7 separate regions of the Homo sapiens genome follow, and all the other regions are linked to region 5. The links are contacts of gene promoters, found by promoter capture Hi-C in blood cells and fetal thymus (Javierre and others, 2016). All regions are on one chromosome and are shown on one strand. The core of a region is centred on a gene start or on the middle of the fragment in contact, and the rest is flanking DNA. Distances in the headings are between cores, read along the strand shown. Region 1 overlaps KMT2C (lysine methyltransferase 2C). Region 2 overlaps KMT2C (lysine methyltransferase 2C). Region 3 overlaps KMT2C (lysine methyltransferase 2C). Region 4 overlaps KMT2C (lysine methyltransferase 2C). Region 5 holds the start of XRCC2 (X-ray repair cross complementing 2). Region 6 overlaps KMT2C (lysine methyltransferase 2C). Region 7 overlaps KMT2C (lysine methyltransferase 2C).

Evidence for each region. The method cuts DNA at HindIII sites, captures the fragments that hold promoters and counts their contacts. A CHiCAGO score of 5 or more calls a contact.
Region 1: a fragment that was not itself captured here is called in contact with the fragment with the promoter of XRCC2 in region 5 in 12 of 17 cell types (naive CD4 T cells, activated CD4 T cells, erythroblasts and 9 more); the score reaches 8.2 in naive CD4 T cells.
Region 2: a fragment that was not itself captured here is called in contact with the fragment with the promoter of XRCC2 in region 5 in 6 of 17 cell types (total CD4 T cells, naive CD4 T cells, megakaryocytes and 3 more); the score reaches 7.5 in total CD4 T cells.
Region 3: a fragment that was not itself captured here is called in contact with the fragment with the promoter of XRCC2 in region 5 in 1 of 17 cell types (total CD4 T cells); the score reaches 5.4 in total CD4 T cells.
Region 4: a contact is called between a fragment that was not itself captured here and the fragment with the promoter of XRCC2 in region 5, in 7 of 17 cell types (monocytes, total B cells, erythroblasts and 4 more). The highest score is 9.0, in monocytes.
Region 6: a fragment that was not itself captured here is called in contact with the fragment with the promoter of XRCC2 in region 5 in 6 of 17 cell types (erythroblasts, total CD4 T cells, total B cells and 3 more); the score reaches 9.2 in erythroblasts.
Region 7: a fragment that was not itself captured here is called in contact with the fragment with the promoter of XRCC2 in region 5 in 5 of 17 cell types (fetal thymus, erythroblasts, naive CD8 T cells and 2 more); the score reaches 8.5 in fetal thymus.

What each region holds. Positions count from the first base shown.
Region 1 is chr7:152,249,492-152,252,886 of GRCh38, reverse strand. KMT2C (lysine methyltransferase 2C) reads left to right here. Exons shown (of 59, transcript NM_170606.3): 10 at 172-341; 11 at 797-948; 12 at 1,921-2,034; 13 at 2,934-3,011. Among named protein-coding and RNA genes, the nearest start is that of KMT2C, 180 kb to the left of the region's middle. The HindIII fragment of the contact is 2,375 bases long and covers 65-2,439 here.
Region 2 is chr7:152,329,130-152,332,296 of GRCh38, reverse strand. It overlaps KMT2C (lysine methyltransferase 2C), which reads left to right. Exons shown (of 59, transcript NM_170606.3): 3 at 1,558-1,696. Among named protein-coding and RNA genes, the nearest start is that of KMT2C, 110 kb to the left of the region's middle. The HindIII fragment of the contact is 2,680 bases long and covers 207-2,886 here.
Region 3 is chr7:152,286,629-152,290,010 of GRCh38, reverse strand. The region is part of intron 6 of KMT2C (lysine methyltransferase 2C); the gene reads left to right. Among named protein-coding and RNA genes, the nearest start is that of KMT2C, 150 kb to the left of the region's middle. The HindIII fragment of the contact is 3,426 bases long and covers 322-3,382 here.
Region 4 is chr7:152,310,181-152,313,200 of GRCh38, reverse strand. It overlaps KMT2C (lysine methyltransferase 2C), which reads left to right. Exons shown (of 59, transcript NM_170606.3): 5 at 1,255-1,403. Among named protein-coding and RNA genes, the nearest start is that of KMT2C, 120 kb to the left of the region's middle. The HindIII fragment of the contact is 6,484 bases long and covers 1-3,020 here.
Region 5 is chr7:152,674,402-152,677,549 of GRCh38, reverse strand. It overlaps XRCC2 (X-ray repair cross complementing 2), which reads left to right and starts at 1,409. Exons shown (of 3, transcript NM_005431.2): 1 at 1,409-1,509. The coding sequence starts at 1,471. RefSeq lists silencers at 1,163-1,632, 1,933-2,022 and an enhancer at 1,088-1,932. The HindIII fragment of the contact is 16,438 bases long and covers 1-2,654 here.
Region 6 is chr7:152,175,802-152,179,110 of GRCh38, reverse strand. It overlaps KMT2C (lysine methyltransferase 2C), which reads left to right. Exons shown (of 59, transcript NM_170606.3): 38 at 1,101-2,920. Among named protein-coding and RNA genes, the nearest start is that of GALNT11, 150 kb to the right of the region's middle. The HindIII fragment of the contact is 5,531 bases long and covers 1-3,309 here.
Region 7 is chr7:152,194,347-152,197,733 of GRCh38, reverse strand. It overlaps KMT2C (lysine methyltransferase 2C), which reads left to right. Exons shown (of 59, transcript NM_170606.3): 28 at 1,723-1,827; 29 at 3,166-3,294. Among named protein-coding and RNA genes, the nearest start is that of GALNT11, 170 kb to the right of the region's middle. The HindIII fragment of the contact is 2,512 bases long and covers 362-2,873 here.

The sequences.
Region 1 (3,395 bases), core at 3-2,502, 420 kb after region 5:
AGTAAGAGTCCATCTCAAAAAAAAAAAGCATGTACCCTAAATTAGTGTCATGAAAATAAAAGCTTAATGTATAATCCACAAATGATTCATGACTTTTTAAAGGTTTACATCAGAACTACAATTACAAATGCATAACAAACTGTTTTTGTTTTTATTTTTCCTGGTGTTTAGAATTGCAGAATATGTATAGAGTGTGGCACACGGTCTAGTTCTCAGTGGCACCACAATTGCCTGATATGTGACAATTGTTACCAACAGCAGGATAACTTATGTCCCTTCTGTGGGAAGTGTTATCATCCAGAATTGCAGAAAGACATGCTTCATTGTAATATGTGCAAAAGGTAAGAAGATAGTTATTCTATTCAGTTGTTTTGTCGATTGTTTTATTCATGTGGTCATTTGCTCTACCATCTTACAGCTTCTAAGTTTTTATCACTCTAGCAATTCCATCAGTACTGATTGCTGTTATAGATGGAATTAAATGATGTTTTTGAGTCTCAAAGGCATAAGGAAGTAAATGGGCAAAAGATAAGACCAGACCACATCAGAAATGAGCACTAATAGGGAAAAGTAAAGAGAAAATAGCTTAAAAATGTCAAGTAAAAATACGGCAGCATCTCTAGTGACATGCACAAATGTGCTTTAAAAAACCTTTGTCAGTTAGCAACTCCTCTAACCTCTCTCCTCTCATACTTAATTAACTGTTTTCATATCCAGCTTTTCAGCAATGCCTTCTCTTTACCTAGATAATAACTCGATGTTAGAAATTTTTATTTAAGTATACTTATCACTGCAGGTGGGTTCACCTAGAGTGTGACAAACCAACAGATCATGAACTGGATACTCAGCTCAAAGAAGAGTATATCTGCATGTATTGTAAACACCTGGGAGCTGAGATGGATCGTTTACAGCCAGGTGAGGAAGTGGAGATAGCTGAGCTCACTACAGGTAAATTTGAGAATGATTTTTTTTTAAATTTTTTGTTTTTGTAATGTTGTGCCATTGTATCACCAATATATTGCTTTAATCAGGAAGAGAGGATCCTGTATTCCAGATTCCATCTTGTTCTCAGTTTCTCAACCTTTAAATGTATTTGTTATCTTGGTCATCTCTGAATCTGATGGCTAAAATCTAATCTAACTTAAGATAGTTTTTTTTAGTATTTGAATTCCGGGTCTAGTGTGCTTTCCTTCACTTGTGTTCTTCAGGCCGACAGTGGAAGTTCCCCAGTCTTTGGGTTTGCTTAGTTTGTTCTTTATAATGTGGGTTATTTTTCTCTAAGCATGTTGTAGTTTTGTAATGTCCTTCTTAAGTTAATTATCACCTTTTCAGCCCAAGATTTTGTTCAGGTATGGAATATTTTTAGTAGTATCCTACTGTTAAAAACATGAGTCTTAGAGAGTAAAGGAAATAGAACTGCTCGCCAGATTGTTTTTCATTTTCATCATTATGAGTGGCAGCTTTTGTAAAACTTCTCTTTATCATCTTCAAGGATAACTAAACATCTTAATTACTAACCTTTCATTTCCAGAATGCCATCAGTATTTAGTTTTGAAATATCCTTTTAAAATAATGTGCCAGTTACCTTTTAAAAAAAATTGTTTTAGAGATGGGTTCTCACTATGTTGGCCTGGTTGGTCTTGAACTCCTGGCTTCAAGCGTTCCTTCCGTCTTGGCCTCCCAAAGTGTTAGGATTACAGGCATGAACTACCACGGTTGGCCCACCTTTTGATGCATTATAATTTTCATGTTTTTTAAAAATGTAAATATACATGTGGTTCAACAGAGAAAAATCTGAAGAAAAACTTAAAGCATTTTTGGTGATGATTTGCCCTTACTCATACAAAATCATAATTGTTGACTTAATGAACAAAGAAAAAAACTCATTCTGAGCTAAAGAATTAATAATTTTTTGTTAAGATTATAACAATGAAATGGAAGTTGAAGGCCCTGAAGATCAAATGGTATTCTCAGAGCAGGCAGCTAATAAAGATGTCAACGGTCAGGAGTCCACTCCTGGAATTGTTCCAGATGGTAAGAATGTTTAATGGATATACTCTGTTTTTGAAGAAAATGTGTATATACAATAAATATGTGAATATTGACTAAAACTTCAGTAAAAGCCAAGATGCAGTCACTTAGGAAGAGTTTTTTAGTAAAATAATCTTAGACAAATTAATAGGAGAAAGGACATGCGTGTATTTGTAGTTCAGCTACCATCTAGACTTAATCATAAGTACTTACTTGGTTAAGGGACCAAGTGATTTTCTATTAAAAAGCAATTCGTATTTTTATTTCTTTAGTTGTAGTTGCTAAGTAGAGCTGTTGCTGATGATGAGATGTTTCATGCTGAGATAATGAAAAATTTACTGTATTGGATCATCTCAGCAGTCCTATTGAGGGTTATTTCACTTATTTCCATGATGTTTCAATTAAGCTTTTTGTAGTAAATATTGATAAGAGCTATTATTGTACTTGCAGATCTGGAATTAATAAGAGACCATGTTGGGGGAAAACTACTTGTTACATTTAATCACAGGCTCATCTGAAAGTCTTTGGTGTTGTATGTGAAGTTGTATGTTCAATTATATAGTATACATAAAAATTATAATGTATACATAAAAAGCCACTGAGATGTTTTGAAATTTATTAAGTTTACGTATAATAACTCTCATTAAAATTATTTTCTATAATCTTTCTTGTGAGGTCTAGTTGTTAAAGAAAAAGAGAAAAAGACAATTAAAAAATTTTTACCATAGTGCAAAGACTTCTAATTTTGTCTTCATAACTTACTAATAAGTGGTACAATGTTTCATGCTTATATTGGAAATTGACATTTAGTAGAATAAAACTCTTTACTCAAATTACTGTTGAGGGAACAGTGTTACAGAAATTTTGACTCCTTAGAGATTTTATAAATGTGTTACTCACAGCGGTTCAAGTCCACACTGAAGAGCAACAGAAGAGTCATCCCTCAGAAAGTCTTGACACAGATAGTCTTCTTATTGCTGGTAAGCAGTATGTTCATATTGTCTAATTTGATTGAGTTACAAGATAATGTCTTTATCCCAAAGACATTTTTGCGATTGCTGTATGTATATACATTACGGTAACTAAATCTTTTAGTTAAGAGATTCTGGAAAAGAATTGACAATGGATCTAAAGAAGGTTAGTTTCTCTTGAAAGGTTTTTTTTTTTTTTTTTTTTTTTTTTGGAGGGGGGAGGTCATGATTAAAAATATTTTGTACTTTCAGATCTGTTACTTGGTAGTTTTCTTTTATCCCTACCTGTAGTCTTTCAATAAAGTGGGAAAGAAGATGAGATTTCAGTTTGATATCAGAACATGTATAGGCCTGGGCGATATAGTGAGACCCTGTCTCTACAAAAATAAAAAA
Region 2 (3,167 bases), core at 297-2,796, 350 kb after region 5:
CATTGTAGTAATAGAGCATGACAGACAGAGTGGACATATAATTTTTATTAAACAAGAAGAATGATGTTAGGGGTAGTGGTGTGTGGAAATCCTCTCAGCTGTTAGGCTGCCTCCTGAGAAAGAACATTTAAGGTGTTTGGGGTTGGATTCAAGGAGAATGGAAAAAGGCAATAAAGTGAAGGTTTGTCCTTTTCAAATATTAAGCTTTTAGAATGGGTAATAATTAAGATACATGATGAGTCTTTTAATGATGATTTTATAAAGTGTGAAGCAATTTTTAATGAGTCACTTTGAAATACATTTGTTCTGTAGACCAATTGCTATAATCCTGAAATAAGATTTTTTTTTGGCCGGGCACAGTGGCTCATGCCTGTAATTCCAGCATTTTGGGAGGCCGAGGCAGGTGGATCACCTGAGGTCAGGAGTTCAAGACCGGCCTGGCCAACGTGGTGAAACCCAGTCTCTACTAAAAATACAAAAATTAGCCAGGCATGGTGGTGGGCGCCTGTCATCCCAGCTATTCAGGAGGCTGAGGCAGGAGAATTGCTTGAACCCGGGAGGCAGAGGTGGCAGTGAGTCGAGATCGCGCCATTGCATTCCAGCCTGGGTGGACAGAGCGAGACTCCATCAAAAAAAAAAAAAAAAAAAAAAAAATCTTTTTGTTGTTGTTGTTGTTGTTGTTGTTGTTGAGGTAGGATCTAGATGTGTTGCTTAGGCTGGAGTCCAGTGGTGCCATCACAGCTCACTGTAGCCTCCGCTGCCGGGGCTTGATTGATTCTCCCACCTCAGCCACCAGAGTCGCTAGGACTACAGGTGTGTGCCACTATGCTTAGCTAATTTTTTGTAGAGATGGGGTGTTACCATGTTTCCCAGGCTGTCTTGAACTACTGGGCTCAAGCAATATGCCTGCCTCAGCCTCCCAAGGTGCTGGGATTACATGTGTGAGCCACTACACCTGGCCAAAAATAAGATTCTTTTTTTTTTTTTGAGACAGGGTCTGGCTTTGTCACCTAGGCCTGAGTACAGTGGCACGATCCCAGCTCACTGCAGCCTCTGGCTCCCAGGTTCAAGGCATATCCTTCCATCTCAGCCTCCTGAGTAGCTGACATTATAAGCACTCACCACCTTGCCTGGCTAATTTTTACATTTTTTGTTGAGATGAGGTTTCACCATCTTGCCCAGGCCAGTCTGAAACTCCTGAGCTCAAGGGATTTGCTTGCCTTGGCCTCTCAAAGTGCAGGGATTACAGGCATGAGCCACCATGCCTGGCCAAGATTCTTAACATTTATTACTAGGATGAAACTTCTCTGAGTCAGCTATAATTTGGGCACAAGGAAAAGTATACCATGCTTCACATTATTTTGATAATCATTTTGCGGTAGAGAATAAAGATGCACAATACCACTAATTACGTGCATGAACTTTTCTTGTGTTAGTGAAATATTGTTATTTGTTGTTTCTTTTTACATTATGACCTATGCTTTATAGATACATTCACCAGTGATTAAAATAAACACAAAAATGACTCTTTGTTTTCTCTTGTTTACTGTTAAGCAGAAATCAAAGAACAATCTGCAGAAGAGGATGCTGAAGCAGAAGTGGATAACAGCAAACAGCTAATTCCAACTCTTCAGCGATCTGTGTCTGAGGAATCGGCAAACTCCCTGGTCTCTGTTGGTGTAGAAGCCAAAATCAGGTTAGAGAATGAATGCAGCTGGATTGGATATTAGTGACAGGAATAAAGCAGTGAAATGACTATAGAGAAAATTCAAGGAGTATGAGTTTAGGATGAAAATCTGGGTGGGATTTTATGATTTAGTAGCTAAATTTGAAGCTGATACCTCTGTGTTTAGTTGGGATGAGTTACATCTGTGGGCTTAGGCAATTGTAGAGCAGGGCAGCACACTACGGTTTTACTCTAGTCACCTCAGGCCAGTACAGAATATTACCAATGTGCTGTTCCTGGCAGAAGACATAAATGTGAGCATTTAGCATGAGGATTAATTTTTGATACTTACCTGTAAACTTAAGTTGATAGTTTTGTTCCTTACCTTCTCCCCATTCATTAAAAAAGGAAACACAGGACATTATAACCTATTTTTTTTCTTTCTTTTTCTCCCCCCCCCCACCACCCCTCCCCCCCTCCCTTTTTTTGAGATGGCGTCTTGCTCTGTCACCAAGCTGGAGTGCAGTGGTGCCATCTCAGCTCACTGCAACCTCCAATTCCCTGGTTCAAGAGAGTCTTCTGCCTCAGGCTCCTGAGTAGCTAGGATTATAGGCATGCACCACCATGCCCAGCTAATTTTTGTGTTTTTAGTAGAGACAGGGTTTCACCATGTTGGCCAGGATGGTCTCGATCTCCTGATCTCATGATCCACCTGCCTCGGCTTCCCAAAGTGCTGGGATTACAGGCATGAGCCACTACACTGGGCCTGTAATATATCATTGTATAATTCAGCTTTGAAGTTTTAAGAGTTTTTAGACCTTATTTGAAAGACATGAATAAAATAATGAAATTATCCATCAGTTTGGTACTCCCATCTCCTTCCTTCCCTCCCTCCTTACCTGTCTCCCTCCCTTCTTTCCCTCCTTCCTTCCCGCCCTCCTTCCCTCCCTTTCTCCCTCCTTCCCCTCCATCCCTTCTCCCTCCTTCCTCCCTTCGTTTCCCTTCTACTTCCTTTTCCTCTTCCCTTTTCTTCCTTTCCTTTCTTTTTTTTTTTATTTTTTGAGGCAAGGTCTTACTCTGTTGCCCAGGGTAGAGTGCAGTAGTGTGATCACAGCTCACTGCAGGCTCAACCTCCCAGGCTCAGGTGATCCTCCCACCTTAGCCTCCCAGGTGGCTGGGACTACAGGTGTGTGCCACCATACTTGGCTAATTTTTAAGCTTTTTTTTTGGTAGAGACTGGGTCTCTTTATGTTATCCAGGTTGGTCTGGAACTCCTGGGCTAAAGCAATCCTCCTGTCTCAGCCTCCCTAAGTGGTGGAAGTGCAAGCATGAACCACTGCACCTGACCTCTCTCATCTTCTTGAACCATTTTCTTTCTTTTGCTTTTGGGACATCTCACTCCTCATTTTATCTTTTGCTAGTTGCTGTGGAGACTCTACATGTTTATAATTTTGGAGTTCTTAAGGATAAGTCCTCAGATATCTTGTCTACTTTTTGTCTC
Region 3 (3,382 bases), core at 785-3,284, 390 kb after region 5:
GGAATGCAGTGGTGCGATCTCAGCTCACTTCTGTCTCCTGGGTTCAAGTGATGCTCATGCCTCAGCCTCCTGAGTAGCTGGGACTATAGGCATGCACCGCCAGGCCCAGCTAATTTTCATATTTTTAGTAGAGATGGGGTTTCACTATGTTGGCTAGGCTGGTCTTGAACTCCTGGCCTCCAGTGATCCCAAAGTGCTGGGATTACAAGTGTGAGCCACCTTGCCTAGTCCTACACATTTTTAATAAATAACAAAATTCACATTTGTTATAATCCACTGATCTCATCAGAAAAGTCTTTAAGTATTGGAATTAGTTAAGCTTACATTGTTGGATATAAGTTTTTCAAATCTTCTTATTGTCCACTCATGTTCTAAGTTGTTTTCCTTGAAGTGACAGGCTCACTTTATTCCTTTTTTCAAGAAATATGTTAGATAATCAAGTTTTAATAATTGTGGTTTGTTATTTGTTCTTACATGTAAAACCGGTGTTCCATGAAAAAAGCATTTATTTCAGTTTATAAATCACATGATCACAAATTCTTTCCTCAAGAAAAACTATGGTGTAACAATTATTTTACTCTTTATTTCTCGTTTTGTCACATAGATAATTAAAAGATGTGTATTCATGGATCAAGACTTAAAACATTAATGATTTTTGCTGCTTCATCAGTGATATTCTCAATGATACTCTACATTATTTTTACTGTAGTTGTAGTGCCAATTGAGAATGTGACAACTTCTAATACAGCTTGGTGCCAACTGCTTTCAGTTTTGGAAATGCATCAACAGTTTTACCCACCATAGCTTTTGCATCGTGTAACAATTTTTGCTTCAATTGTTAAACATTATTTTGAAAACTCAAGGAACAGTAAAGTCTGTTTTATTGCCCATATTTTTACTATTTGTTTGTTCTTTCTTCCTTCAGGATGTTCTGAGAATCCTTCTTTTTATCATTCTCCTTTCTGGTTCAATAACTTTTCTCACTATTCTTTTGGTGTAGTTTTGTCTCATGACTAATTTTTAGTTCTCATTCATCTCACAATTTCTTGATTTCCCTTTCATTACTAATGGATGTTTTTGCTGGATATAGAATTCTTTGTTGTCAGTTCTTTTAGGACTTGCAAAAATGTTATGCTGCTTTGTTCTGGCCTCCATGGTTTCAGGTGAGAAATCTGCTGTCATTTGAGTTGTTTTTCATCTGTGGATAAGGTGTCATTTCTCTTATTTATCTCAGGGTTTTTTAGTTTAGTCATTAGTTTTCAGAAGTTTATGATATATATTAGCATTGATTTATTTGTGTGTATCCTCTTAGGATTTATTCAATTTCTTGAATCTGTGGGTCTTCGAATAATTGTTCAGCTGCGTCATGTTCCTTTTCTGAGATTCCAGTGACAGGAATGTTGCATCACTTATTATAGTCCCACAAGTGTCTTTAATGTCTTTTTTAAAAAAAAAATATTTATTTATTTATTTATTTATTGTCAGAGTTTTGCTCTTTTGCCCAGGCTGGAGTGAAGTGGTACGATCTCAGCTCACTGCAAACTCCGCCCCTGGGTCTAAGTGATTCTCCTGCCTCAGCCTCCTGAGTCGCTGGAATTATAGGTGTGTGCCACCATGCCCAGCTAATTTTTGTATTTTTAGTAGAGACAGGGTTTTGCCATGTTGGCCAGGCTGGTCTTGAACTCCTCACCTCAGGTGATCCACCCATCTCGGCCTCCCAAAATGCTAGGATTACAGGCCTGAGCGACCGCACCTGGCCACTTTTTTTTTTTTTTTTTTTTAAATCAGTTCATTTTCTTCTCTTGTTTAGGTTGGGTAATCTCTCCCATTTTGTTGTTCAGCTTAGTTTGTATTTTATTTTTGTTAGCATATTTTTTAGTTTTCAACTTGGTATTTGTTTCTTTCTTGATTTCTTTGCAAAACTTTGTATTGTTTCCTTTGTTTCAAAAGTATGTTTGTAATTGCTTTTTTTTTTTTTTTTTTTTTTTGAGGCAGACTCTTGCTCTGTTGCCCAGGTTGGAATGCAGTAAATGATCTCAGCTCACTGCAACCTCTGCTTCCTGGGTTTAAGTGATTCTCATGCCTCAGCCTCCTGAGTAGCTGGAATCACAGGCGTGCACCACCATGCCTGGCTAATTTTTGTATTTTTAGTAGAGATGGGGTTTCATGATGTTGGCCAGGCTGGTCTCGAACTCCTGACCTCAAGTGATCCAACCACCTCTGCCTCCCAAAGTGCTGGGATTGCAGGCGTGAGCCACTGTGTCCGGCTGTAATTGCTTGTTGAAGCAGTGTTATATAGTTTAAAATCTTTGATAGATAATTATGACATCTATGAATTCTCATTGTTTGCACCTTTTGACTATATTTTCAAATTCCTGTTCAGATTTTCCTGGTTCTTAGTATGGTATAACATGTTATATTTGGTTGAATCCTTTGCATTTTAAGTGTTGTGTTATGAAGCTCTGCATTTTATTTAAATACCCCCTTTTAGTAGGATTTATCTGAAACTTTGCTTTTGGGGTGGAGGTGGGGCACAGCCTTGTTACTACTCCCAGGTGTATGTGAAGATTCCAGTTCCTTAGTAGGCCTTTGTTGACTCATTGATGGAGACGTACACCTAGTAAATGCTGAGTAGGAGTGAAAACTCTGGACTTGCATTACACCTTTGTGAATACCACCCTGGCTCAAAAGGTTCCTGCTTTTCACTTGGCCTCCACTGAATGGGATGGAGGGGTGGTTAAGTTATCACTGGGCAGTGCTTTGAGTTTGGATTCTCCAATAGGCCTCTCCTGTCATATCTCTGTAGAGGGAGGGATAGGGATATGTCCTTATCACTGGGTGGGTGTTGAACTCAGGCTCCCCACTTTTTTTCCACCCACACTCTAGAGGGAGGAAGCCGCGTTACTGCTCAGTGGGTATGAATGTCCTGTGTCCCAGTTGGCCTGCTGTGGTATCATGTTGTCCGTGGGCAGGAGTGGGGAATGGCTGACTATGTCCTCCTTTTAAGTCTTTGCAAAAGGTATATGGCTTGGGCTTTTATTTGTACCATTTGGCTTAAACTGGTTTGTTGTTGTCTATGAGTTTTTTGTCTTGGTAGCCTGCCGCTTCCCTGCTTTTTTGACAAAAGACAGCAGAATTTTCTTGGAGTTTTACGTATGTGTGTGCCTGTTGGTGTTTCTGAGTTGTCTGCTTCTCTAGCAACTTTTCTTGTATATATGAGTCAGAAAGGAAACCTAGGGAATTCATCCTCTTTTGTTTCTTGGCTCCTGAAGCCCTAATTGGTCTGCCCTCTCTCTACATTTTGTTGTCTTCTTTTGTTTGTCTTATGTATCACGGCTAAGGGTTTTTAAAGCTGTATTTAGTGGAAAGAACAGGGAAAAGT
Region 4 (3,020 bases), core at 438-2,937, 360 kb after region 5:
TTTGTAGGAATAGAGATTATACTTATAGGAAAGAATTTGTTCTCATTTTACTGTGGGCATTTATTAAAATGAGAATTTAAAGTTAGCATAGCATGCTATACCTTTTAAAAAAAGTCTATGCATTTCTAATGCTGAACATAAAAACATTACTGGTTATTTTTATATGGTTTGATATTTAAATGTACTTATTGAAATATGTTAATACTTTTTTTCTTTCAATGATTCCAGGTATAAAAATGTTTAGTACCCTGGTCATTGTGCTGATTTTCTCTTAATAGGAATCATGATAAATATCCAGCATACAGAAGTGCAGTGAGTTATGATCTATATTCAATAGTGATTTAATCCAGAATTATGATCAGGTTAAATACTATGATATTAGGAGAAGATTTAAGTTTTAGTGGTAGTCATCTGATTTCCCATATTTAATAATTAAGTACAATAGCCATTTTTATTTATTTAATGGTCTTAAATAATACCTAAAGTGTTAGACCTTGAAAGCCTGAAATCTCCCATATGTTGTTTACTTTATTCAATGTTCTTTTTTTAGACTATAGTTTTTGCTGTTATACTATCTTCCTTATTCTACATGCCTTTGGTAGCTATTTTGCTTTTGCTTTTTACTTCCAATTTGTGACATACAGTCTTGATTGAGAGTACTTGCAACGTCATGCCACAGACCAGCTGTTGAGATTTGTTGACGGGACCATAAGAAAGCTACAGCTGATACATTCCATTCCTCCTGCCTCTGTTTTCACACTCTGTAGTGGGTTTTCATTTTCCCTGGAAAATATCCTTTCTTTACACAGTTAACTGCCACCTCTGTTGTGGCAGTCCTCAGTCAAGATACAGCAGACTAAACATTTCTGATTTGATCAAGTTTTGTTTTGTAAGCGTTTAAGTAAAGCCAAAGGAAATACTCAGTTTATGTGTTAAATACAATTCCTGACTAGGATATGAGAGTTGGTTTTAAAAACATTATATTATGGAATGGAAAAACAAATTTACAATTTAATACTTCCCTGTGGGTTTGGAGACTCTTTTTCTTACTTGTTACTTATACGATATAATATGGCAACCCAGTTTAATATTATACCATGGATAATACTAACAGATGAATTCTAAAAGTTGTTTTATGACAGTTAATGGCTGATAAATTAAAATTGATTTGGCAGTACATTGCATTTAAACAGTTAAAAATGAAACAATTTTCTGCTTGTTTTCACTTTCACAGTTATTTTATTTTATTTTCAGAGAACGATCTCCTCAGCAGAATATAGTATCTTGTGTAAGTGTAAGCACCCAGACAGCTTCAGATGATCAAGCTGGTAAACTGTGGGATGAACTCAGTCTGGTTGGGCTTCCAGATGCCATTGATATCCAAGCCTTATTTGATTCTACAGGTATGGGCATGTTTTCAATAATGACTGCCTCTTAATTCTGGAAGCATTTTAATTTTAATACATTATTAATGTCCTCAATAATAAATACCTTTCATCTAGAAATAATTATAATCATACTATAAAAAAATCATTATTAAATATGCCTGGTTAGGTAAAAGAAAAGGTTTATCTATTTAAAATCTGTACAGTACCACCACCGGACTGGATGCTTTTTAAAATACTTGTATTTTTTCTTGTGTAGATAGCGGTGCCATGGAGATCTGACAATTGAGAAAAGAGAAAATTTTAAAGGGGAAAATTTTAAAGTGAGAACTTGGGGAATGTGGCATTCTGAGTCTATTTTATTTGGGCATGAATGAAAATAGGTCTTAGCCGGGTAGATTATCTTATTATAACAGTATTGTAACTCAGCACTCATGATATGGTGCTACTGGAATTTAAAGTACATCTCATTCTGTAGTTGAACTGCAGATTGACTGATAGTGGTTCAAGTGTTATGTGATGGATAATTTAAAGGCTGAAGTGTTAATAATCATTGATACGTGCTCTCACTGTGGGATGAGGGAAGTAGAGGTGTATGTGTAGTTTATTTTCTATACATTTCCTTTGTATATCACCTCAACAAAGTACTAAGTAATACTTTGTTTGCTTTATATAAAGATACCAGAAACATATCAAATACATATATAATATTTAAATAAAATGACTAAAAACTAATTTTGTTTGTTGAAGAAATAATCACTAATTCAGTTATTCTTAAACTTGTGTGTGCATCATAATAACCAGACGGCTTGTTAAATCACAGATTGCTGGCAGGGCACGGTGGCTCACAGCCCGTAATCCCAGCACTTTGGCAGGCTGAGGTAGGTGGATCGCTTGAACTCAGGAGTTCAAGACCAGACTGGGCAACATGGTGAAACCCTGTCTCTACAAAAAATGAAAAAAATTCCCGGAGTGTGGTGGCATGTGCCTGTAGTCCCAGCTATTTGGCAAGGCTGAGACAGGAGGATTGCTTGAACCCTGGAGGTTGAGGCTGCAGTGAGCTGTGTTCATGCCACTGAACTTCAGCCTGGGCAACAAAAAAAGTGAGACCCTGTCTCAAAACCAAAACAAAACAACAACAACAAAAAAAAACAGAACCAAACACAGATTGCTGGGCCCCACTGCACGAGTTTTTGATTCAGTAGATCTCACTTGTGATCTGCGCTTCTGCATTTTTTTGGTTTTTATTTTGAGACGGAGTCTTGCTCTGTTGCATAGGCTGGAGTGCAGTGGTGCGATCTCAGCTCACTGCAACCTCTGTCCCCTGGGTTCAAGCGATTCTCATGCCTCAGCCTCCTGAGTAGCTGGAATTACAGGCGTGCACCACCACGCCCAGCTAATTTGTAGAGACAGGGTTTTGCCATGTTAGCCAGGCTGGTCTCAAGTTCCCAGCCTCAAAAGATCCACCAGCGTTGGCCTCCCAAAGTGCTGAGATTACAGGAGTGAGCCACTGCACCCAGACAGATTCTGTATTTCTAAGAATTTCTCAGTTTGATATTGATACTGGCACTCAGTGGTTGGTCCACATTTTTAGAAGGGCCACTTTACTGCTATCACAAATACAGGATGCCATTG
Region 5 (3,148 bases), core at 160-2,659:
GGCCAATATGGTGAAACCCCATCTCTACTAAAAATACAAAAATTAGCCTGGCGTGGTGGCACGTGCCTGTAGTCCCAGATACTTGGGAGGCTGAGGCAGAAGAATCACTTGAACCCGGGAGGCAGAGGTTGCAGTGAGCCGAGATGGTACCACTGCACTCCAGCCTGGGCGAGAGTGCAATGAGACTCCGTCTCCAAAAAAAAAAAAAAAAAGAAAAAAAGAAAAGTAAGTGGGGCACACGATTCAGGCCTAAGCTAACCAGACCAACCTCATTCCTGATGGTTGTTAATGTTTCAGATACGGGCCCGCAGCCCTACGTAGAGAAGAGGCCAAGGTAGAAAACATGAATCTGAGGTAAAAAGAAATGAGGTACTTGTTTGCCTCATCAAGCCTCTCAATTAAACTAACCTTGAAGCCTGTCTTACCTTTGGACTTCTAGTGATGTCACCCGGTAAAGCCCATTTGTTTCAGGACGTAAGAGTTGGGTTTTCTGTGACTTGGAACCAAAACCATTCCAATTTACAAAATGAGCAACTTTAATATTACCCATGAGAAATACTTCATTGGTATATGCTCTTTCCTAGCGTTTTTGAAAACTAAACTAGGTGGGTGAAAAGTATATCTTTGCATGAAACTTTTTCATTCCAGAAAACATTTTGTCATCTTGATAATAATGGCCAATGCTACTATATCCAAATTTTTGTCTTTTTTTTTTTTTGAGACAGAGTCTCGCTCTGCCGCTCAGGTGTGATGGCGCGATCTCGGCTCACTGCAACCTCTGCCTCCCTGGTTCAAGCGATTCTCCTGCCTCAGCCTCCCTGAGTAGCTGGGATTACAGGCATGCGCCACCACACCTGGCTAATTTTTGTATTTTTACTGTAGACGGGGTTTCACCATTTTGGCCAGGCTGGTCTCGAACTCCCGACTTCCAGTGATCCTCCTGCCTACCTCAAAAAGCAACTTGATAAATCCACAGGCTCGGTATATTTTAAAAATTCTTTTAAATACAGTATACTTTTCTCTTTTTTTCCAGAATTAACCATGAATCGCACACACAGCCAGAGGCTTTTAACCCGAGAACGGACAAAGGGGCCTGCTTGTGCAATACAATTATTTTTAATGGTTAAACAAATTAATACATAAGACCAGCTTTACCTAATATAATAATAACGAACCAAAGTTTACAACAGACAAGAAAAGCACCAGCTGTCCCCGCCACCCCGGAGCGATCTCCAAGGGGACGCGGGAGAGCGCCGCGGGGGACGCGGAAGTCTGACGTCACAGGAACTGGGGGCGGGGCGGGGAGGCCCGCACACCCTATTGCGCATGCTCCCGCCTCCCCGGCCGCGGCCTGGCGCAGTGCGCACGCGCGCGGGTGGGCGGGTTTGACTGGCCGTAGAGTCTGCGCAGTTGGTGAATGGCGTTGGTGGCGGGAAAGTTGAGTCTCTCCTGCGCCGAGCCTTCGGGGCGATGTGTAGTGCCTTCCATAGGGCTGAGTCTGGGACCGAGGTGAGAGCCGCCGGGTTGGGAGTGAGGGAGATGGGAACAAGGCCGCCGGTGGGCGAGGGGAGCCGAGGGAACCCGGGGGATTGGGAGGCTTGGGGCGGCGCGGCCTGGCCGGGCTGGGACCGGCCTCTCGGCCTAGACGCCCGCGATGCTGGCACCCTCTGCCACCTCTCACCTGGGCCCCAGGGGTCCGCCCCTGGGCAGCCTGGAGTCCTCCGAGGTGGGAGGACCGGGCGGAGGTGGAGGAAGTCTTTCTTTGGAAGACTTGCTGCCTGCCCAGATCGATATAACATACGAGGTCTCTCCTCCCAAGAGTTATGGTCTAAAAACCCCTCACAAATTAACTACCGTTGGAAATGTCAAGCTATGCAAGAAAAGCTAGAAAAGGGGAGGGGTCGCCCGTTGGAGCATTTGGAGCTTTTCTGGAACAGGTGGTGTTTGCGGAGGTTGCCTCACCTCCCTGTAGCCCACGTGTCTCTGCTTAGGGCAGCTGGCCCTCGCCACCCCCTAGTATTCGTTTCCAGCCCAGGTAGCTCCAGAGCCACACAAGCCGGTGGATGCCCCTCAAGAATTGAACCAAGTGTCCAGCACTTACTGTGTGTCAACTACGTGTTAAGGGATAGGAGTAAGCAACAAAAGACATAACTTCTGCCATTAAAGAACTAGTAAGGGAGGCTGCTGTAAGAATTACAGTATTGCACAAAAGTTTGTTGTCCATTAGAGGGGCGGGCATCATGGAAGATGCAGGAGGAGATGACTGAAGTTTCAAGGACCATTTGAAATGGTTTGGCAAGGAGAGGATGACATTCAGAGCGGAGACAGTCGGGAGTACATGGATTCTGAATTAAGCAAGAGCATGGCTAATTTAGATAACTGCAAGTATTTCTGTAAAATTGGAACAAAGGGAGTGAGGGACAATAGGTTGGGAAGTAAGCGCTGAGCAGTGGGCAGGGTATGAAGGATCTTTTATGCAGATGAGAGAGGAAGCAATCTCAAAAGAGTCAGCAAACATTTTTGTGGAGGGCCATGTGGTAAATATTTAGGCTTTGCAGGCCATGCCGTTTCTGTCACAGCCACTCAACTCTGCTGTTCTAATGGGAAGGCAGTCATAGATAAATAAAGGCACATGGCAGCGTTCCAATAAAGCTTTGTTTTTTGGATTTAGCCTGCTGGCCATAGTTTGATAATCCCTGTTCCTAAAGAGTAGAACCACTGCTTAGTATAAGAACGGCTACAGTTATAAACCATAGATATATATATATTTAAAAATATATTTATATATAATATATATTTAAAAATATATTTATATATAATATATATTTAAAAATATATTATATAAATATATATTTAAAAATATATTTATAATATAGATTATATAGAAAGTATATAATACATATAAACATATTTTTTATATATAAATATATATTTTTTTGAGATGAACTCTCGCTCTGTTGCCCAGGCTGGAGTGCAATGGTGCCATCTCAGCTCACTGCAACTTCCGCCTCCCGGGTTCAAGCGATTGTCCTGCCTCAGCCTCCCAAGTAGCTGGGATTACAGGCACACGCCACCACACCCAGCTAACTTTTGTATTTTTAGTAGAGACAGGGTTTCGCCGTGTTGGCGAGGCTAGTTTCGAACTCCT
Region 6 (3,309 bases), core at 149-2,648, 500 kb after region 5:
GCTGAGACAAAAGGATCACTTGAACCCAGGAGGTGGAGGTTGCAGTGAGCCGAGGTCACGCCACTGCACTCCAGCCTGGGAGACAGAACGAGACTCTGTCTCAATTTAAAAAATAATAATAATAAATTTTAGAGATTTCCGAACTGAAAGGACTTTCCCTTTAGGAACTTTCCATGGTGAGATAGGGTTGTAAGTTAGTGGTGATGAATCATAAGAATGTTTCCTTTTTCAAAGTGGCTAAAGTCAAAGCCAAACCTATGCCCTAGTTATAATAAGGAAATAGTTCTTTAAGATATGCTTTTTAGTTTTATGTCTTTTAGTCTTATATCTCTACCTCCATGTTATATTCTTTTAGTTTCCTTTTCTTCTACCTTAGTTGTAATTTATGCCTCTTTCTGCATTTTATATTTTGTGTAAGTTGCCTGTAATCTTACTCTTAATTTCCCTTTTTTCTTCCACCTTGTTATAATTTATGCCTCTTGCTATGCTTTGTATTCTGTGTAAGTTGCCTGTAATCCTGTCTAGAAGGAAGTACAATATAAAATAGTCCAACAATTTATACATTTACTTAATCTTTATAGATGAGGCCTACTTGTCCTTTTCTCTAAGTTTATTCTATCCCATCATCAAACCTGTGCCTTTGTAGTCTCATGTACTGAGGCCTGTAAGTCCCTCAATAGGTATGAAGACCTATCTTCATTCAAACATCATCCCCGAATCAGCTTCCTCCATCGAACCTCCCTAAATATAGATAAAAGAAACTCTTCCTGAAAAAGTCCAGTAGTATTGTTCTTATCTCTGAACAATTGATTTCATCTGCTTGGTTGTTCTTCCTTTGTCTTCATTTTTGTTATCTGTTAAATCTTAAGCCTTTAGAGCTCAGATATGGTGTTCATTATAGGATTCTTAGCAAAATCTTACTTGCATATGAATACTGTAAATACTTTTTAATGGTGATAGCTTTGCTTTTGTAAGTCATAGTATTTGGCAACATTTTGTATGTACAGTTTAATTGAAGACTTTTCTTTTTTTCAACTTAACTCTAAATTTAACATAATACCTATTTGCTTTTTTTTTTTTTTTTTTTTTTTTTTTAAAAGATTTGGATTTCCAGGAGGTAGTCATGGTACCATGCCGAGTCAAGAGCGCTTCCTTGTGCCTCCTCAGCAAATACAGGGATCTGGAGTTTCTCCACAGCTAAGAAGATCAGTATCTGTAGATATGCCTAGGCCTTTAAATAACTCACAAATGAATAATCCAGTTGGACTTCCTCAGCATTTTTCACCACAGAGCTTGCCAGTTCAGCAGCACAACATACTGGGCCAAGCATATATTGAACTGAGACATAGGGCTCCTGACGGAAGGCAACGGCTGCCTTTCAGTGCTCCACCTGGCAGCGTTGTAGAGGCATCTTCTAATCTGAGACATGGAAACTTCATTCCCCGGCCAGACTTTCCGGGCCCTAGACACACAGACCCCATGCGACGACCTCCCCAGGGTCTACCTAATCAGCTACCTGTGCACCCAGATTTGGAACAAGTGCCACCATCTCAACAAGAGCAAGGTCATTCTGTCCATTCATCTTCTATGGTCATGAGGACTCTGAACCATCCACTAGGTGGTGAATTTTCAGAAGCTCCTTTGTCAACATCTGTACCGTCTGAAACAACGTCTGATAATTTACAGATAACCACCCAGCCTTCTGATGGTCTAGAGGAAAAACTTGATTCTGATGACCCTTCTGTGAAGGAACTGGATGTTAAAGACCTTGAGGGGGTTGAAGTCAAAGACTTAGATGATGAAGATCTTGAAAACTTAAATTTAGATACAGAGGATGGCAAGGTAGTTGAATTGGATACTTTAGATAATTTGGAAACTAATGATCCCAACCTGGATGACCTCTTAAGGTCAGGAGAGTTTGATATCATTGCATATACAGATCCAGAACTTGACATGGGAGATAAGAAAAGCATGTTTAATGAGGAACTAGACCTTCCAATTGATGATAAGTTAGATAATCAGTGTGTATCTGTTGAACCAAAAAAAAAGGAACAAGAAAACAAAACTCTGGTTCTCTCTGATAAACATTCACCACAGAAAAAATCCACTGTTACCAATGAGGTAAAAACGGAAGTACTGTCTCCAAATTCTAAGGTGGAATCCAAATGTGAAACTGAAAAAAATGATGAGAATAAAGATAATGTTGACACTCCTTGCTCACAGGCTTCTGCTCACTCAGACCTAAATGATGGAGAAAAGACTTCTTTGCATCCTTGTGATCCAGATCTATTTGAGAAAAGAACCAATCGAGAAACTGCTGGCCCCAGTGCAAATGTCATTCAGGCATCCACTCAACTACCTGCTCAAGATGTAATAAACTCTTGTGGCATAACTGGATCAACTCCAGTTCTCTCAAGTTTACTTGCTAATGAGAAATCTGATAATTCAGACATTAGGCCATCGGGGTCTCCACCACCACCAACTCTGCCGGCCTCCCCATCCAATCATGTGTCAAGTTTGCCTCCTTTCATAGCACCGCCTGGCCGTGTTTTGGATAATGCCATGAATTCTAATGTGACAGTAGTCTCTAGGGTAAACCATGTTTTTTCTCAGGGTGTGCAGGTAAACCCAGGGCTCATTCCAGGTCAATCAACAGTTAACCACAGTCTGGGGACAGGAAAACCTGCAACTCAAACTGGGCCTCAAACAAGTCAGTCTGGTACCAGTAGCATGTCTGGACCCCAACAGCTAATGATTCCTCAAACATTAGCACAGCAGAATAGAGAGAGGCCCCTTCTTCTAGAAGAACAGCCTCTACTTCTACAGGATCTTTTGGATCAAGAAAGGCAAGAACAGCAGCAGCAAAGACAGATGCAAGCCATGATTCGTCAGCGATCAGAACCGTTCTTCCCTAATATTGGTAGGAGTTTTCTTGAGTCTCAACGTATATTACTATGGGTATTAGAGTGGCATGCGATATGCTTATAAGATTTTATTATTAGAATTACAGTTGGAATAAAGCACTGAGTTTTTCTATTCCTCCTTGAGGAGTTTGTTTGTTTTGTTTTGAGACGGAGTCTCACTGTGTCACCCAAGATGGAGTGCAGTGGCGCGATCTCGGCTCACAGCAACCTCCACCTCCTGGGTTCAAGTGATTCTCCTGCCTCAGCCTCCCGAGTAGCTGGGACTACAGACACGTGCCACCATGCCTGGCCAATTTTTGTATTTTTAGTAGAGGTGCGGGGTTTCACCATGTTGGCCAGGCTGGTCTCAAACTCCTGACCTCAGGTGATCCGCCTGCTTTGGCCT
Region 7 (3,387 bases), core at 368-2,867, 480 kb after region 5:
ATCAATTTTAATGATTTATTCAGATATAAAATCCTTTAGGTAGGGGCAAACTTGTAAAACAGTCTTTAAAAAATTAGTTATAATTGTATAGTAGAATTCCATTACTTTAAAACAAAAAACTGCTATATGACTCCTAAAAAAATTATCCAGATTTTTTTTCATTCAACTACAGTGTTGTCATTATTGAAATAATTTTCTCTAAAAAGTTCCTGGATATTTGGGCACGCAAAACTTAATGTGATATGTTACATATGAATTACATTTTGAAAACTATATAATGGGACCAAGACTGTTTGACAGAAGTATTTGACCTGGAATATTACATTTATGCCCTCCTCCCCCTTTTAAGTAAAAATAAGCTTGAGATGGATTAAAAATTTCAGTTTCTCTTTACTGAATGACTAATATAATTATTAAAGCTAGCCTAAACAAGAGTTCCAATAGTTTCTTGGTTAAGCCCAAACCCGTAGAATCCTCCTTGACTTTTCTTTCCCTTTCATTCATCCACGTTTGTGTCTGCCTTCAAAATACGTCCCAAAGCCGACCACTTGTCTCAGCTTTCCTTAGAACCCTGGTGCTGTCATCACCTCACCTCTCAGACTGCACCAGTGCCCTTTTCTAATCTTACCAGCCCCTCTCTAATTCCCACCCCTCATCTGCTCTACATATAGCAGCCAGTATGTTCCCTTTAAAATATTAGTCATCTCCTATCTTTCAGCCTCCCAGCAACTTCTCATTACACTTCAGAATAAAACCCAGTCTTCCCCATAATCTCTAAAATCTTAACATAATCTTGCCCTAGCTGCCTCTTTTTTATCCTTACCACAGTTTTTCTTACTGTTAACACTCTGGCCTCTCGTTGGCAAACCCGGCTTGCCCCAGGGGCTTTATGTCTGCTTTGCCTTAGTTTGGAGGGTTATCTCCATCTTTGTGCATATAACTTACTCCCTCATTTAGTTTTATGCTCAGTCATCTCCTAAAGGTCTTCATAGACCACTCTGTCTAATACAACATCCCCGCAGCTTATTTTTAATCCTTTTTCCTTGTTTTTTCTTTAAATAGCACTTACAGCGATGTCGTTTATTTACTAACTCCCCCTGAGAAAGTAAGCCCTCTGAGGGCAGGCACTTTGTTTCAGTCATTACTGAGTGGGCAATGCCTGATACGTGATCCATAGACACAGTTCTGTGGGTAGTGAAATACTTTTTAAAATAAATGAGTGAGTAATCAGTATGAACAGCAAAGCTGCAAGTAGTTACTAGATGGTACCTGGCTTGTGCTCCATATGGAATTTCTGGCTTGTGCTCCATATGGAATTTCTAAAGAGTGACAGGTTTGTCTTTCATATTTTAACTTTTCCTACTGTGTTTTAATTTCTCAATGTCACTTTTAGACATGCCACTTTCTTAATGAAAAACTTTTTTTTCTTTGCTTTGTTTCTTACAGCATTTATTCTGTTTCACTTTTATTGCCTACAGGTCTTTAAATTTTGTCTCAATATACATTAGTCACAAGACAAAATCGTCTGAATTTTTAGTAAATTTTTGTAATTCAAAACATTATCTCCTTTGCTATGGAAAATTTTTACTGTAAAATTAAGAGTCTCAGGTTTTTATTCCAGTACTTGCCTCACTCAGTATCTGCTGTACTCTAGGTTTTTAGCAAATGGCTTAATATCTGAGAAAATACTGAAATTTTAAAAAACATATTTACTATATTTAGGTCCTGCTGATGACCCATTAGCTGATATTTCTGAAGTTTTAAACACAGATGATGACATTCTTGGAATAATTTCAGATGATCTAGCAAAATCAGTTGATCATTCAGGTATATATGAATACTGTTTACCCTTTTTCTGGTTTCTGATGTGAGCGAGAGGTGTATGATGTGTGGAACAAGTTTAGCCTTTTGTCTGTTTCCCAGTAACTGTGTTTTTGTTTTTGGCTTTGTTAAAGGACTCAGCATTTTCTTTGATCTGCCTCAGCTTTCCTGCTTTAGGAGGGGTATAGCAAGTTAGTTAATTTCTGTCGTCTTTCTAATTGCATCACATTTAAGGCATGTTGCCTTAAAGTCTTGCTGTATCTTTTTTCTTCTTTTGTTTGTATTTTCCCTCACTTCCTGCTCCTGTGGTAATCATCCATTTTATTTGGTTTGGGTCTTATAGGTCTTGATTTATGCACTTTCCAGGTTGAGAGCTCACCTTTTCCATTTGGTAAGAAACTGAGCAATGGATGACGGCTGACTAGAAGTAGTCTTCTTTTTTTATAGTGATTTCAGCTGAAACAACCTGTAGGTGCATGCTGTTTATCAGTAGTGCTAATTTGTCACTAATCCATACTTTGCTTTTCCCTTTTTGTGTGTGGCTAAAGCATAGTATAGCTGTACTGTACTTCGGGTGACTTTCTCAGTAGTTTTTCTTTAATGAATAATTTTATTTTTGTTAATATGTGGTTTACAATATTACCTAAATGTCGTAGAGCTAGTTCCTAATATAAGATCAAATAAGAACAGACTAAATTTTTACTTTTTAATAGTAATAATATTGAGAAAGCATGAAAAAAATGTAGATGATAAACCACTTTTACATGTGACTCTTACAAATTTGAGCTGCAGCATGTTACAATTTTATAAAATGTAATGTACATAATCAGAATGTGCCTATAGAATACTTTAAAAATATTACCTATAATTGAAGTTATTTACAAAGGATAATATTAAACACTGAGCATTTTAGGGCTTTTCATTAATTCATATGAAACATATTCCTTTTTACATACTGTGCATAATAATTGAACTGTACATTTGATAACACTATTTTCCAAATTAAAGCAATTATTTGCATATCGATTTCTCATAAACTCCTATCTTAAGCTTTTTTTTTTTTTTGGCAGGAGTTGGCAAGTTAAAATCAGATGTATTCTTTTATTCCTCAGGAAATGTTTTTACTTGAAATAGAACTTTACATGGCACCGAATACAAATATATTGTGCCTAATTTTTACTGAGCGACTCTCCAAATTGATATGAGAATTCTGATTCAGAATTACAGACTTTATTTCTCTATTTTAATCATATTGTTATATACTAAGTACAGGTAAATAGTGCTATACATTTTTGTGTGAGTATTCTGAATGTACCTTTAAATTTATTTTCCTTACTCTTGTAGATATTGGTCCTGTCACTGATGATCCTTCCTCTTTGCCTCAGCCAAATGTCAATCAGAGTTCACGACCATTAAGTGAAGAACAGCTAGATGGGATCCTCAGTCCTGAACTAGACAAAATGGTCACAGATGGTAAAATATTTGCCCTACATCTAGGCTTTCTAAAAGACCTGAGTAAATATGATTTTTAAAGATTTTTGCATGGTTATAATTTAACTTCTAATT